Linked DNA regions of Homo sapiens: region 2 is linked to region 1. Evidence: promoter capture Hi-C in 16 types of primary human blood cells and fetal thymus (Javierre and others, 2016). All regions are on one chromosome and are shown on one strand. Each heading gives the region's core, a stretch centred on a gene start or on the middle of the fragment in contact. The rest is flanking DNA. Distances are from core to core; before and after follow the strand shown.

Evidence for each region. Contacts are between HindIII fragments. The CHiCAGO score rates a contact against its expected background, and 5 or more counts as called.
Region 2: a contact is called between a fragment that was not itself captured here and the fragment with the promoter of FSCN3 in region 1, in 1 of 17 cell types (naive CD4 T cells). The highest score is 5.0, in naive CD4 T cells.

What each region holds. Positions count from the first base shown.
Region 1 is chr7:127,590,407-127,597,720 of GRCh38, forward strand. It overlaps FSCN3 (fascin actin-bundling protein 3), which reads left to right and starts at 3,330. Exons shown (of 7, transcript NM_020369.3): 1 at 3,330-3,591; 2 at 4,901-5,597; 3 at 5,922-6,040. The coding sequence starts at 3,448. It overlaps ARF5 (ARF GTPase 5), which reads left to right. Exons shown (of 6, transcript NM_001662.4): 5 at 557-682; 6 at 807-1,294. The coding sequence ends at 893. It overlaps LOC105375489 (a long non-coding RNA gene), which reads right to left and starts at 1,834. Exons shown (of 3, transcript XR_007060513.1): 1 at 1,723-1,834; 2 at 1,407-1,598. The HindIII fragment of the contact is 6,131 bases long and covers 2,643-7,314 here.
Region 2 is chr7:127,345,456-127,352,769 of GRCh38, forward strand. It overlaps a transcript of ZNF800 not described here. Among named protein-coding and RNA genes, the nearest start is that of ZNF800, 44 kb to the right of the region's middle. RefSeq lists a silencer at 2,306-2,675. The HindIII fragment of the contact is 809 bases long and covers 3,814-4,622 here.

The sequences.
Region 1 (7,314 bases), core at 2,080-4,579:
ACTGCAACCTCCGTCTCCCGGGTTCAAGCAATTCTCCTGCCTCAGCCTCCCAAGTAGCTGGGATTACAGGCGCCCGCTGCCATGCCCAGTTAATTTTTGTATTTTTAGTAGAGACGGGGTTTCACCATGTTGGCCAGGCTGGTCTTGAACCCCCAACCTCAGGTGATCCACCCGTCTTGGTCTCCCAAAGTGCTGGGATTACAGGAGTGAGCCACTGCGCCCGGCCGCATTCTCATGTCTTTACATCTGAGTCTGAGAAGTTGTGGGAGAGATGGGACTTATATGTGGCAAAGAGAAACATTTTACATTCCTGCCTTTTCCATTTGGAAATGTTGTCATTTTGCCTAGGCAAGTACTCAAATTAGGAAAAGGTCTTTCTTTTCTGGACTTATGGGCTCAGGTCACCTCAAGCTCATTTACAACTATGTCTTGTCTTCAACGGCAGACTGCACAATACTTTTTTTTTCCAATCAAGATGCTAGGAGGTAGAAAGGGAATTCCCCAACACAGTAGAGGAGACGCAGCCTGGGTCCCACCTTCTCTTCTCCTCTCTCAGCTGCAGGAGGACGAGCTGCGGGATGCAGTGCTGCTGGTATTTGCCAACAAGCAGGACATGCCCAACGCCATGCCCGTGAGCGAGCTGACTGACAAGCTGGGGCTACAGCACTTACGCAGCCGCACGGTAGGGGTCCTGCCCACCTGGTGCTGAATCCTGCCTCTTGAGGGAAGCTGCAGGCTGGGACAGAGATATAAAGGCATTCCTTTTGTTCCTGGTTGCTGACCTCTTTCTTTCCTTTTCCCCACAGTGGTATGTCCAGGCCACCTGTGCCACCCAAGGCACAGGTCTGTACGATGGTCTGGACTGGCTGTCCCACGAGCTGTCAAAGCGCTAACCAGCCAGGGGCAGGCCCCTGATGCCCGGAAGCTCCTGCGTGCATCCCCGGGATGACCAGACTCCCGGACTCCTCAGGCAGTGCCCTTTCCTCCCACTTTTCCTCCCCCATAGCCACAGGCCTCTGCTCCTGCTCCTGCCTGCATGTTCTCTCTGTTGTTGGAGCCTGGAGCCTTGCTCTCTGGGCACAGAGGGGTCCACTCTCCTGCCTGCTGGGACCTATGGAAGGGGCTTCCTGGCCAAGGCCCCCTCTTCCAGAGGAGGAGCAGGGATCTGGGTTTCCTTTTTTTTTTCTGTTTTGGGTGTACTCTAGGGGCCAGGTTGGGAGGGGGAAGGTGAGGGCTTCGGGTGGTGCTATAATGTGGCACTGGATCTTGAGTAATAAATTTGCTGTGGTTTGTACACGGTGTTGTCTGTAGCCTGCAAAGGAGAGGCTAGGTTACTGGGTACCAAGAGACAACGTGGGAGAGGATCAAAGCAGCTAAGGCTGCAGGGCAACCCCACCCACACATACCCTCAGCTCAGCTTCTCCCTCCTTATTCTTGGGCTGGAAATACTGTAGGGTTTACAGTGGTGCAAATCTCATTCCTTCCCAGCTCCAAGGAGCCTTTGCTGAAGATTACAGGATCTCCCTTCATAGTTCCATGAACCACGTAATTGTTTCCCATCATTCTCGTAGCTACTTAGAGCCGTTCTTAATGTTTGCCTTACACATTAAAATTAGAGGGGGAGAGAATGTGCGTTAATAATACGAATCCTGAGGTACATTTCAGAAAATGTGATTCATCAGGACTAGTCTGATGCCCAACAATATGCATCTTTAAAATTACCCAGAGGAGGCCGGGCGCAGTGGCTCACGCTTGTAATCCCAGCACTCTGGGAGGCTGAGGCAGGCGGATCACGAGGTCAGAAGATCGAGACCACGGTGAAACCCCATCTCTACTAGAAAAAAAAAAATACAAAAAATTATCCAGGCGTGGTGGCAGGCACCTGTAGCCCCAGCTACTCAGGAGGCTGAGGCAGGAGAATGGTGTGAACCTGGGAGGCGGAGCTTGCAGTGAGCTGAGATCGTGCCACTGCACTCCAGCCTGGGTGACAGGGTGAGACTCCGTCTCAAAATAAATAAATAAATTAAATAAATAAATAAAATTACCCAGGGAATTCTGCCACTAATAGTCTATTACCCTTATTTTATAAAACATCGGTGGGGTCTGGGGCTTGTAGTTCCTTGCTGCACACCACTGAGACTCTTGCTACTTGGGAAGACCCCTCCTATGGGGAATAGGAAAGCAGGTATAAGGAACCACGGGTGGCTGGGCACTGTGGCTCATGCCTGTAATCCTAGCACTTTGGGAGGCTGAGGTAGGAGGATTGCTTGAGCCCAGAAGTTAAAGACCAGCCTGGGCAACATGGCAAGACCCCATCTCTACAAAAAACAAAAATAAAAAATTACCTGGGCATGGAGATGGACACCTGTGGTCCCAGCACCTCAGGAGGCTGAGGCGGGAGGATCGCTTGAGCTTGGGAGATCAAGGCTGCAGTCAACTGAGATGCACTCCAACCTGGCTAGCAGAGCAAGACCCTGACTCAGAAAAAGGAACCAGGGGTGTGGCTTATTCCCCAAGTGTGATCGACTGCCCATTTTCCCTTGGATCCTAGCCAGGCTTAGGCAGAACTCATCATCACTTGTTTTTGCCTTTGTTTTTCTTTCATGTCACTTTTCCAGGTTCTGAGCTGGGTTTTCTCCTCAAGCTTTGCAGGAAGTGAGTCCAAGAGACTATAACTCAGAGATTCTTTGGAGGGGAAAGATACCCTTGCAGGAGCTCTATCTGCCCAGCCAGATGTCCTACCCACTGGCAGAGCAGCTGGGGTTGAGGAGGGGTGCTTGGTGCTCTCTCCACCTAGGCCCTTCTCCTTACCCAGGTCCTGAGCCAGCCTTCCTGATGAATATGAGTAATTTGATGTCAACTGATTAACTAGGGTTTCCTCATACTCCCTGCAAAATAGCATCTGGAACATTTTGACCTCATCCTCCTAAGGGCCATAAAAGCTGATAGATTTTTCTTGGTTATCTTGAACTTAACAAAATACTTGAGTTGCAAGGGAGCCAGGCAGAACTCACTTCCTTGGGAGAAAGGAGGTTGCTTTCTATCCTGTTACCAGAATGAGAAACGGAGGTAAAGAAAGGAAAAAACTTGCCTAAATTCACAGGTTGAAGTTCCGGATCCTGGTCTCAGCTCAGCCTACTTTGGTGCCCAAAGGGGAATAGGAAGGCAAACACCGGAGGCTCTGCACCCGCCTCCTCTAGGCCATGGATTAATGCTGCTGCGCCAGGGCCCTTTCCCCACTGTGGTGTGATAAGAGGCTGCCCTCACAGTCACAATGCTCCCGGGTCACAGAGGTGCTGGGCCCCAGGCCAGCCTCTGCCTGGGAAGTTCTCTCTGGGAACATCTGGTGGGTACTACAGGCCCTATTCCAGGCCCTATGGCCTGTGGAACCTCACCACGGGGGGGAGGGCTGGGCCAGACGGAGACATCACCTGTGGTGTCAGCCCCATGGATGAGACAGAGTGGATACACAGACATCCCAAGGCTGAGGACCTAAGGGTTGGGCTCATCAGCTGGGCAGGAACCTACCTCACCTTTGAGGCATGCAAGAATACAGTCACTGCAACTGCGAAGAGTTTGGGCAGGAGACAGGTGACAAAGCAAACCCATGCTGGCACCAGTTTTCTGAGTGGCCAAGCTGTGTGTGTGTGTGTGCGCGCGCGCGTGTGTGTGCGTGAGTGTATGTGTGTGTGTGTGTGTATGTACTTGCCTGTATATGAAAGTATACTGGAACCGGTTTTCTGAGTGGCCAAGCTGTGTGTGTGTGTGTGTGTGTGTGTGTGTGTGTGTGTACTTGCCTGTATATGAAAGTATACTGGAACCAGTTTTCTGAGTGGCCAAGCTGTGTGTGTGTGTGTGTGTGTGTGTGTGTGTGCGCACTTGCCTGTATATGAAAGCAGGGTGTACTCTCAACCTAATCACTTTCCTAGGTTCTGCCAGTGCCAGGCCTGAGACTTTTCTACTCTAGGCTTTTGTTCACAGACCCTATTGCCCCATCTCCCACCTCTCAATTTATTCCGCAAGGTGAAGCCTCAGCCTTGCCCTTGCTGCCTTGTCCTGCTCTAACTGTCCCTATTCCCCATCCCAGCACAGGGTGGTTGTGTCAGAAAGAAGAGAAGTGGAGAGCACAGGGTGGTTGTGTCAGAAAGAGGAGAAGTGGAGAGCCCAGGTGGGAAAGCAGAATTGTGGGCATCCAGGGGAAGTTGGACCAGTGGAGTTATTGCAAAGCCTATGTTTCTGTTCTGGTTGTGGTTTGAGAATGGGGAACTCCAGAAGCCCTAGCAGTGTCGGTCTTCATTCTAGAGAGGAATGTAGGCACCTCTGGGATGGGTGCCAGACTGAGGCAGGGGCAAAGTTCTTCCTCTTATAACAAGGTTGATCACAGCTGAACCAGGCAGTTGCATCTGAACTGTTCATGCTCCCATCTTCATCCCTGGAGCCAGGGCCTGCCTATAAGAGCTTTTGCTTCTGTCTTGCCATGCTGGAAGGCAACCTTTGGGGATGGAGGTATTGGCTAAGTGTGCTCTCTGCGGACAACAGTGAGGAAGAAAAAAGTAAGACTTACACCAAAGCGTTTCTTTAAAAATTAGGTATTGAAGAGTGGGATTAAGAAAGGAGGGAGGGTTTACCTTCTGTTAGCTGAAGGAGGTAGACATCTAGAACTTCTCTTTGGATAGTGCCATCTGGCTGCAGGGGTGGAAGGGCCCAGAGATCTCTTGATGAGGGGATAGTGGGAAAGTGGAAGAGCTGACAGCAAGGAGATACCAGGGCTGATGTGGAAGAGGAGGTGGCTGGTGCTGATGAAGGTGCCAGGGTGATACCAGCCATGACAGTTGCAGGGCTCCTTGGTCTGGTAACTTCGTGATACTGATTTCCCTCTTCTCCCTCCTGATGCCTCCAGACCTGGGAGATCTTGGTGAGCAATGAGCATGAGACACAGGCCGTGGTGCGACTAAAGAGCGTGCAGGGCCTCTACCTGCTGTGTGAGTGTGATGGCACCGTGTGTTATGGCCGCCCAAGGACCAGCCACCATGGGTGCTTTCTACTGCGTTTCCACCGGAACAGCAAGTGGACCCTCCAGTGCCTAATCTCTGGTCGTTATTTGGAGTCCAATGGCAAGGACGTGTTTTGCACTTCCCACGTCCTCTCAGCTTACCACATGTGGACCCCCCGACCAGCCCTCCATGTCCACGTGATCCTCTACAGCCCCATCCACCGCTGCTATGCCCGGGCTGACCCCACTATGGGCCGCATCTGGGTGGACGCAGCAGTTCCCTGCCTGGAGGAGTGTGGCTTCCTGTTGCATTTCCGAGATGGATGCTACCACCTGGAGACCTCTACACACCACTTCTTGTCCCATGTAGACCGGCTGTTCTCCCAACCCTCATCACAGACAGCTTTTCACATGCAAGTGCGGCCTGGAGGGCTTGTGGCACTGTGTGATGGAGAAGGAGGCATGTTATATCCACAGGGCACGCATCTGCTCTTGGGCATGGGCTGCAACCCCATGAGGGGTGAGGAGTGGTTCATCCTACAGCACTGCCCAACCTGGGTCAGCCTCAGGTCAAAGACTGGGCGGTTCATCTCAGTCATCTACGGCAAGTGCTGGACCCAACACAGATGGAGGGAGAGAGGGCTGGCTGTTAAAAAGAGGAAAATGTGTTTGGGATCAGCACAGATTTTTGAGTCTGCTAATAAGGAAGATCCTGGGGACCCAAGGGGATCTTTTGTGCCATCGAGAAGGACAGAAAAGCATGGGTATGGGATTTAGGGGAAAGTTGCCTAGGTCTTCTCCAGACCTACCATGGTCCAACAGAAAGTGATGAAGTTTGAGGAGGGAGGGACAGAAGCCCCGGTCATAAAACATGGAGGAGGGGCCGAGACTGAGGGGAGGCTTTTACTGACATGCGCTTCCTCTGCAGATGGTGAGGTGCGTGCTGCTTCTGAGCGCTTAAACCGAATGTCCTTGTTCCAGTTTGAATGTGACAGTGAGAGCCCCACTGTGCAGCTTCGTTCAGCCAATGGCTACTACCTATCCCAGGTGAGACCTTGGCTTCCTGAGCAAGAGAAACCTTAAGCTCTGAGCTCTCCCTCCCTAGACTTCCTTCTCCTTTTTCAAGGCAAATGATGAGAGGATGATGTGGGCTGTGGAGGCACTTGTTGATAAACATTCATTTTCACCCAATGGGGGCTCCTTTAAAAAAAAAAAACAAAAATCAACTTTATTAAGGTATAATTTGAAAGTTTGTAAATTATATAATACACATATGTATAAATTATGTATATTATTTACAAATAAGTATATTATGTATGTTTTATAAATAAAATGCACCTATTAAGTATAAAATTCAGTAAGTTTTGACAAATGTATCCATCCATGCAACCATGCCGTAAGCATATCACAAGTGAGAAAATATTTCCAACACCACAAACTTTCCTCCTGCTTCTTTGCAGTCAGTTTCCCTCCACCCTTGCCTCCCTCTCCCAGCTACCACTGATCTGTGTTCTGTCTCCGTGAATTAGATTTGCCTACCTACTTTAGCGTTTCTGATCAATGGAAACATACAGTATGTATGGTACATACATTTCTTGTGCTTGGCACAATGTTTTTAAGGTTCGTTCACATAATGTTCGTGTGTCAGTAGTTCATTCCTTTTTATTGCCGAGTGGTATTCTATAATGCTGCTCATAAACATGATTTGTTTATCTATTCACTTGTTGATGAACACTTGGCTTGTTTCTAGTCTGGGCTATTATGAATAAAGTTGCTATAAGCATTCATGTACAAGTCTTTTTGTGAACATACATTTTCATTTATCTTGGGTAAATATGTAGGAGTGGAATTACTAGGTTGTATAATAGATATGTGCTTAACTTTGGAAGAAAGTGTCAGTTTTCTAAAGTGATTATACTATTTTACATTCTTGTCAATAACGTATGAGGGTTCTAAGAATTCCATATCCTCACCAATAGTAAAGCTGGCTTTTGGATTGTCTTTTTTATTTTAGCCACTCTAGTGGGTGTGTAATTTATGGATTTAATTCACATTTACCTTATAATTAGTAAGGTTTAGAATTTTTTTTTTTTTTTTGAGATGAAGTCTTGCTCTGTTGCCTGGGCTGGAGGGCAGTGGCTCAGTCTCGGCTCACCACAACCTCCGCTTCCTGGGTTCAAGAGATTCTCCTACCTCAACCTCCCAAGTAGCTGGGACTACAGGCATGCGCCACCATGCCCAGCTAATTTTTTGTATTTTTAGTAGAGATGGGGTTTCACTACATTGGCCAGGCTGGTCTCGAACTCCTGACCCCATGATCT
Region 2 (7,314 bases), core at 2,968-5,467, 240 kb before region 1:
CAAGATGTTATATTTAATCAGTTATCTAAAGGATACGGTTGTGGTGGGAGAGAGGGTGGCTGTGAAAAGCAGCTTAAACAGAGACAACAGCATTTCCTAGGCCCCTGAGGTGCAGAAAATATCTTGGCATATTGGAAAAAGCAGTGTGGCTGCATTCGAGTGGGCAATAAAGAGAGGAGCATAGACGGGGGTGGAAGGATAAGTAAGGGTCAGACTGTGCAAGGCTATGTGAGCCATGGTAAAGGGGTTTAGATTTTATCCTAAAAGCAACAATTTGCTTAATTCAATTTGTGAGAAAGGTTGTTGCTACCACTCTATCAAAAACGTATTGGAGTGGTTAAGAGTGGTAGCAGAGAGACCAGGTGGGACTGGTGTCACAATATCCCGGTAGGAAAGAATAGACAACTCCATTAAAAAGTTTAGTTCTAAAGGAGAGCTGAGAGATGGTTCACAGATGGAGAAGACGTGCACGAGGGAAGGTGTGGTTAAGATGAAAGACACTGGAGCATGTGTGCAGGGAATAATCCATTGAGAGGAGGCAGGATTGATGATGCAAAAGAGAGAAAGGGGAAAACCTAAGGAAGAAGTCCTTGAAAAGGCAAGGGGGCTGGGATTCGGGGCATGACAGGAGGAGCTAATCTGTGAAGCTCCCTCTATTATCACAAAAAGGAAGGTTACCAAGGTAACTGGGTTGGAGGATCTTGTGGTGACAAGATGAGAAAGTCTGTATGTAGTAAATTCTGTTTTCTCAGGCAAATGTGAAGTAAACAGGGAGGAAAAGATCAGAACATTTTGAGGAGATGAAAAGGTATGAAGAGTAGTCTCAGATGTGGAGAACTGAGACTACAGTAGGAACAACAGCACCAACTTGAGGTTTGAGTTAATGGATTGGAAGTAAAAATGAATTGGCTGAACTGTGTACTTTTCTCAAAGAAAATGTTCAGTTGTCCCAGTAAGGCCCATGGAAGGCAGATGGTAAGATTTCTCCAGAGTTGAGATTTTGCCAGGAAAATTAAGAAATTGCTGTTCAAGAGTGCTGAAAGCAATGCATTTCAAGGAGAATGATCATGATAATGGATCACAGAATCTAGACTAAGCAAGGACGAGAACGCAAGACAGGGGCTGATAAACAGTGGGGAAAAAATGAAGCAACGAATTAGCTGTCAGTGAGCAAGGAATCTAGGATAGGAAGATGGTGATCAGAGCATGGAATGTCTGATGATGTGCTAGTTCAGGTCCTCTTAGAAGCAGACACCAAGACAGGGTTCAATGTGCAAGAGTTTTATTAAGGGAACTCCTGTGAAGGATAAACAGAAGGAAGCAGGAGCGGGGAAGGGAGACTTCATATCATAATACAGGTCTGACACCTGTGAAAGGAGAGGGGAACTGGGCCCAAGAGCCTCAGGCTGCATGCAGCATAGTTCTCAGAAAGTTTCAACCAGCCGGCTCAGGTGTTTCCAAGCCAAACTTGCTCATCAGAGGAGTCCTACATCTTCCATGAACGTGCCACCACCAACACCCCGTGCTGTGCCCGCTCACTGACTGGGAGTAGTGCCAGAGAAGCATGGCTTCAGTGCAAACCCAGCAGTGTATGCCTTGGGAAGGCAGGGGGACCTGTCAGTCACTTCCGCTCCGTGGAGCAGGAGATCTGAGAGGCCATGGTCACCACAGACAAGACTGTAGAGAGGATGCGGATTCTAATGATGACATGGTCTAGAACTGTGGTAGCAAGGACTGATTCTGAAGGGGAGAAATAATTACTGGAGATGAAGTTACAGGAAGGAGGGGACTGGATGTTGGAGTTCAAGTTCAACCACAGTTGTGCATAACACAACTCCAAGTTGTGTCAAGCACCCCACAGTCACTGAGGATTTGGACAGTTATTAAAACAATCTTCTGGCAGATGGCAATATTTGGGGTTGTGGCGGGGGGGTGGGGAGGTGGGCGGGGGGAAACTAGTTTGTCGATGCCAGGATTTGAGGTGAAGGTTCAAGTAGGAGCTAGTCTTTGAAGAACTAATCATGACAAAACTCACTAGGAATAGGAAATCTATAAATTACAGGCTGAAAGGAAAAGGATGGTATTGTCCAGTGACAAGATTCTCAAAGAAGCCGGGATTTTGGCAGGCAGAGGACGTGCTGCTCTGCGAACAACCACGACTCGCACGGAGGCCGCCCCCAGCCTGTCCCTAAGGCACGTGGTCCTCTAGAGGGCTTCGCGGGAGAGTTCTGGCTCAAACCAGGGACGGCGAGGGCAAGGGGTGAAAGGGGTTTGAGGCGAGGCAGAGGACTCAGGGGTCTGCGGACGGCTGGTCGGCCCGTGGAGACGGCCGCGGCGAGGCGCCTGAGGTACGGCGGTGCGGAGCGAGGGCGAGGTCCCGCCGGCGGCCAGGCGGCGGCGCTCACGGAGCCGCGGGCTTCCCCAGGCCCCGGGCAGCGTGCTGGAGCTCTCGGGCGGCGCCGCCGCGGAGCTTGGCGCGGCAGCTGGCAGCGGCCTGACGCGTGGTGACGGCGCCCGCGGGCAGGCAGCGGCTCCCGGGGGCGGCCGGGCGCAGGGCGGCGGCGCTGCGGGACGACGGCTTCGCGAGGCTTCGGCCCGCACGGGTGGCAGCGGTCCCCAGGGAGGAAAGACAAAGATATGCGGGTTAGAAACCAAGGAAAGAGCGCCGACGCCTCTCAGCCCCGCAAGAGCTGCAGACCCACGGGCAGTGCGGTGCCACTTTCGCCCAACAGGGTGCCAAGAGAGAAAACTGCGGTGGTCATAGGAAAACAGATCCAATTCAGGTCTCATGCAACAACTTGGTGGCAATTTAGGAAAATGTATCAAAACCCTTAAATGTCTGAATACTCTTTGACCCAGAAAGTCTAGCTTGAGAATTTTCCCTTAAGGAATAATTATGAATACCTACAAACTTTTCATACAGGGTGTTCAGTGCAGTATCTATAATAGAAAAAAAAAATGCCAGAAAAAAATGGCAAAAAAAAAAAAAAAATGGGAATGTCCTACACCCAACAATAAGGTATTGGTTATAGTCTTTTTCTTACAGCGAATACTAAACTGCTATTGAAATAATGCTGTGAAATAATACGTAATGATATGGAAAAGAATTGATACTATATGCAATGAAAAAAATCAGTTTCATCCCCATTTGTACCATGTGAGTGTATACTTACGTGTACATGTGTGTACACACGACACATCACATATGTAATAATGGACAGAAACACATCAAAATGTTAAGCAGTTATCTCCAGGTGATAAAGCTGCAGGTAACGCTTTTTTAACTTATGTTTCCCAAATTTCATACAAGTTTGTTTTACAGTAAAAAATATAATACAAGGAATTTTACTCCATTCTTATGTACCCATTCTATATTTATCTCAATTCAAATTTATGAAAATCTTTCTTTTCTATTGTGTAGCAAAGTGGTGGACATCAAAAGATTTTAAAAAATGAAGAGTCCACAAAAGTAGTTTATCTTCCTCAAAAGTTCTGCGTAAATTACAGTATTACAGAAGAGTTTATTGCTTAAACACTTTGCAGTTAATCAAAGCTACTGTCTTTTGTGACATTATATCTTATTTAACTCTAGTAATAATTTCCACTTTAGAAAAAAAAAAATCTGGGCTTTTGAGAAATGTAATTTGATTTGTAATTTCCAGACTTGGGAACACACAGTTTGCTAAAAACAGAAAAATGTGGGACAAATGTTTTAGATCATACCAATGTTTTAGAGTAATTCAATGAATCTCTCTTTAGTTTGAAATAATTGAATGGGATCAAAACTAAAATATGGCAATGAACTAGAATCTAAGCTTAACATCCTGGTCTCCCAATCATAAATTAATTTAAAATTTTAAGTTAATACCTAGGGAGTCTGTTTTGCTAAGCCTTGTTCCAGGAACATGCATAAAAGTGATAATAAAATTATAATAATATAACACAGGAGAGGGGTTCCAGGACTTTGTTATTAGATTGATAGAAGATCCTCTGTAAGTTTCAGATATATTTTAAGCTGAAGTGAGCTCAGAGTTGTCAGGCTGATTTTATCTAATGATGAGCAAATCCAAGATTAGATGTTTATTGGAATGTTGCTTTGTTGCTTAAACAGATGACATAAGTAATCACACCATCCTGTAAGTTTCCTTCACCCTGAAGGTACTGGATACAATTATTGTGTCTGGAAGCATACTTTTGGTAAAAATTATCAGAAATAAATAAAATGTCCAAAGAGAATAAATCCTCTTAAGGCCAAAAGTTTGTGTTAACCACCTGCTCCTGAATAAAATGAAGGTTATAGGAGCTTTTAATAAAACATTTTCTCTCAAAAACCTTAATATTCCCCAAATGATGTAACCAAACAATGTTAAATACAAATAAGACAGAAGAGCATTTATTATTGGTGCTACAGTCCAGCTTTCACTATTCATACAGTGATTTCAATTTAACTCAACATTTTTGGAGTCCCTATTATGTCTCCTGCACTGTGCTCAGACAGTATGAACAAAAAAGATAACACAAGGTTCCTACCTTTGAGAAGCTCTAGCTAGAAAATTACCTTCAGATTACTCAGATGCGGGGGATAACCTGAATCCCTAAATTACTCGCCATTGTCGTGTCAAAGCTTCGCATCCCATATTCTTCAAATGAGCTGATTTCCTCTCATTCCTTTGCTCAGATTTATCCAGAGCAACCTACTGCCTCCACAATAGCTAAATCGATAGAGATTCTGACTAAAGATATGGACTTCCTCCTCCAGAAACATGCGCAGAAGTGCATACACCATTTACTTCGTTTCACTGCACTGGAAGATGATTTACTGAACATAAGCAATATTTGTAAAGGATTATGCCTCCGTTCTCTTTTGAAAGAAAAATGACTGTTTCCTGGAAAAAAAATTTAGAAAATTCTGACTGTTCAGTAGTACATCTCAATGAGATCTAGTTTAAATGAGTTGAAACTGTGCTTTGGCTTTTGACATAGCAACATATACTTCATCTTTGATAACCCATTACAACTTTTTCCCTATGGCAACAAGTGCTGAAATCCTTGACTCACAAAGGTACGTATTTAATAGAACGAAAGCAGAATTGCATAGAATGGAATTTGCCAGGTTAAGGTGGCCTGCACACTGTAACACCAAATTCCTCCAAGACTTTCAAGTTAGATTCAAGTCACATTATTTCCTCTGCCTTCAAGTTCAATTAGACTTCTGGAAAGTCAGCAGATTTCTGTCTGGTTAGAGAAAAACATCTTACCCTGCTCCTGTTTCTTGGCAACACCTTTTGGAAAGGTGGTAACAGCTGCTGATATGGAAAGCACCGAGGCACAATGACGTGCAGCAATCCTTTCCTCATCAAGCAGGAAAACCATGCTGTGTTGCTGACATCACAGGTGCACCAGCTGCCCCCAGAGTGCAATTTTTCTTCTTCCATTTGAATATTTATTGAGAACGAATATTTTGAAGATGTTGACAGTCTTTCCAGTTTCCAAAAGGTGTTCTTAAATGGAGTTCTCCTTTGATGACATCAGCAAGCACATGAAAATGTGAAGCTGGATGCACTGAGAGGCATCAACAGTTTCATTCATTTGCATGCTGAAGAGAAATATGCAGAGCTGCCCATTTCTTCCAAGTCTGAAGTGAGTGATGTCATTTGACAGAAGTAGGGCCTTAATTTTCTTTCATGGACCACATTTAAGAACCTTTGAGTCAAACTATTTGATTCTGCACTCCCCTTACACTATTGTTTCCCACCTCTGTACTTTTGTTCTTGGCATTTCACCCATCGAAAAATGTTTTCTCCCTGCTCTCATCTATTCAAATCCTGTCCATCTCTCAAGACCTAGACCAAAGCCAGTCTCTTTCATTAAGCTTTCCCTGACTACTGCAGCCTGAAATGATCTCTCTTCTGAACTCTGACAATGGTTCCTATCTTTGACAGTTCTCAAAATGTGGTTCTGAGACCACCACCTTTAAAAATGCACCATATTATGTATTTTTACAAGCACCAGAAAGAGCTGTGGTAATTTTTCCTGTTTTCCTGAATCTTCTTTGCAACTCTTAAAAGAATAACTCACTTCCCAGATGGATGGAGAGAAGACTGACAATGATTATTTTTGCTGGGGTGATCAACTGACTCATCTGAATCATTCCTTTCTGTACTCATTTTCACACAAATGTTTTGATTTGTCAGTTGTGTATCTGTCAGGTCTGTAGTGTCACTGCTGACTGCTGAAATCCTACATTTACCCATGGACTTTTCAATCACAACCTCCCAGTGCCATGGCCATCCTTCTAAGGATTCAGATGTTGCTACCATTTTCAAAATAACTTCACACTCTATGAGAAAGAATTTAAGCAGAGCTTAAAATGAAGGCAAGCACAGTTAGATGGAAATGGCTACAACTGACATCATATACTCAAATAAGATGTAAAATCAAATGTATTCTGGAACTGAGCAGCAACTTCAAGATCATCTCTTCCAACAGATTCACATGACAGGTGGGGGAAATGTGGAGAATGGGGTATTTCAGAGCAAGAAACTGAAATTTAAAAGAATAAAAATCTTAAAGTTAAAACAATAGCAAGATCACATACAGTCAAAGGCATTGTCCTAATTAGCTCATGGATTCAACATTAAGGATAAATAAAATTGAAGAATTAAATGAAAAGAATTAAAGGATGAAAATAACTCAAAATGTAAAAGATGGATCACACTCATCTATAAACATGGCCCAAAAGACTGTCTTTGATATTACAAGTAACAAGATGACTTGGACTCAAAACCAGTTATGCTTATTCATAATAATAGTTATCATGTACTTACTGTATACCAGGAATTGGGCTAAGTGTTTTACATACATTAATCAACTCAACTGCATTAAATTCTAATAGAAAAAAAGTATCAAAAGAGAAAGTCTATAATACCTCTGTAAGAAAAGAAATGAAGAAAGCAAAAGCTGGCCATGCATCTGCAGCCTGGTCTAGTAGAAAGGATGCTCTGCATATTGAACAATATCTGGTCTGAGTGGCAGTTGCATTCCTATGGGGAAGATGAGTGTGTTGCACTACCAGAGCTTACTGACACTGGTTGCTGAGAGCTGATTCAATGCTCACCAAGCAACCTTCTGATTATAATTTATTTTTCATGTAGATTTGCCTATTGGGAGAAAATGCACTGAACCATAAACATGAGAAATGATTGTGCCTGACACTTCCCATCTCAAATTAAAGAACTGAATTGTGGAATTTATACACTACTATGAAGCCGGTTAAAGGGATACAGTCTTCTAATACCTAGTTACCTCTCTGGA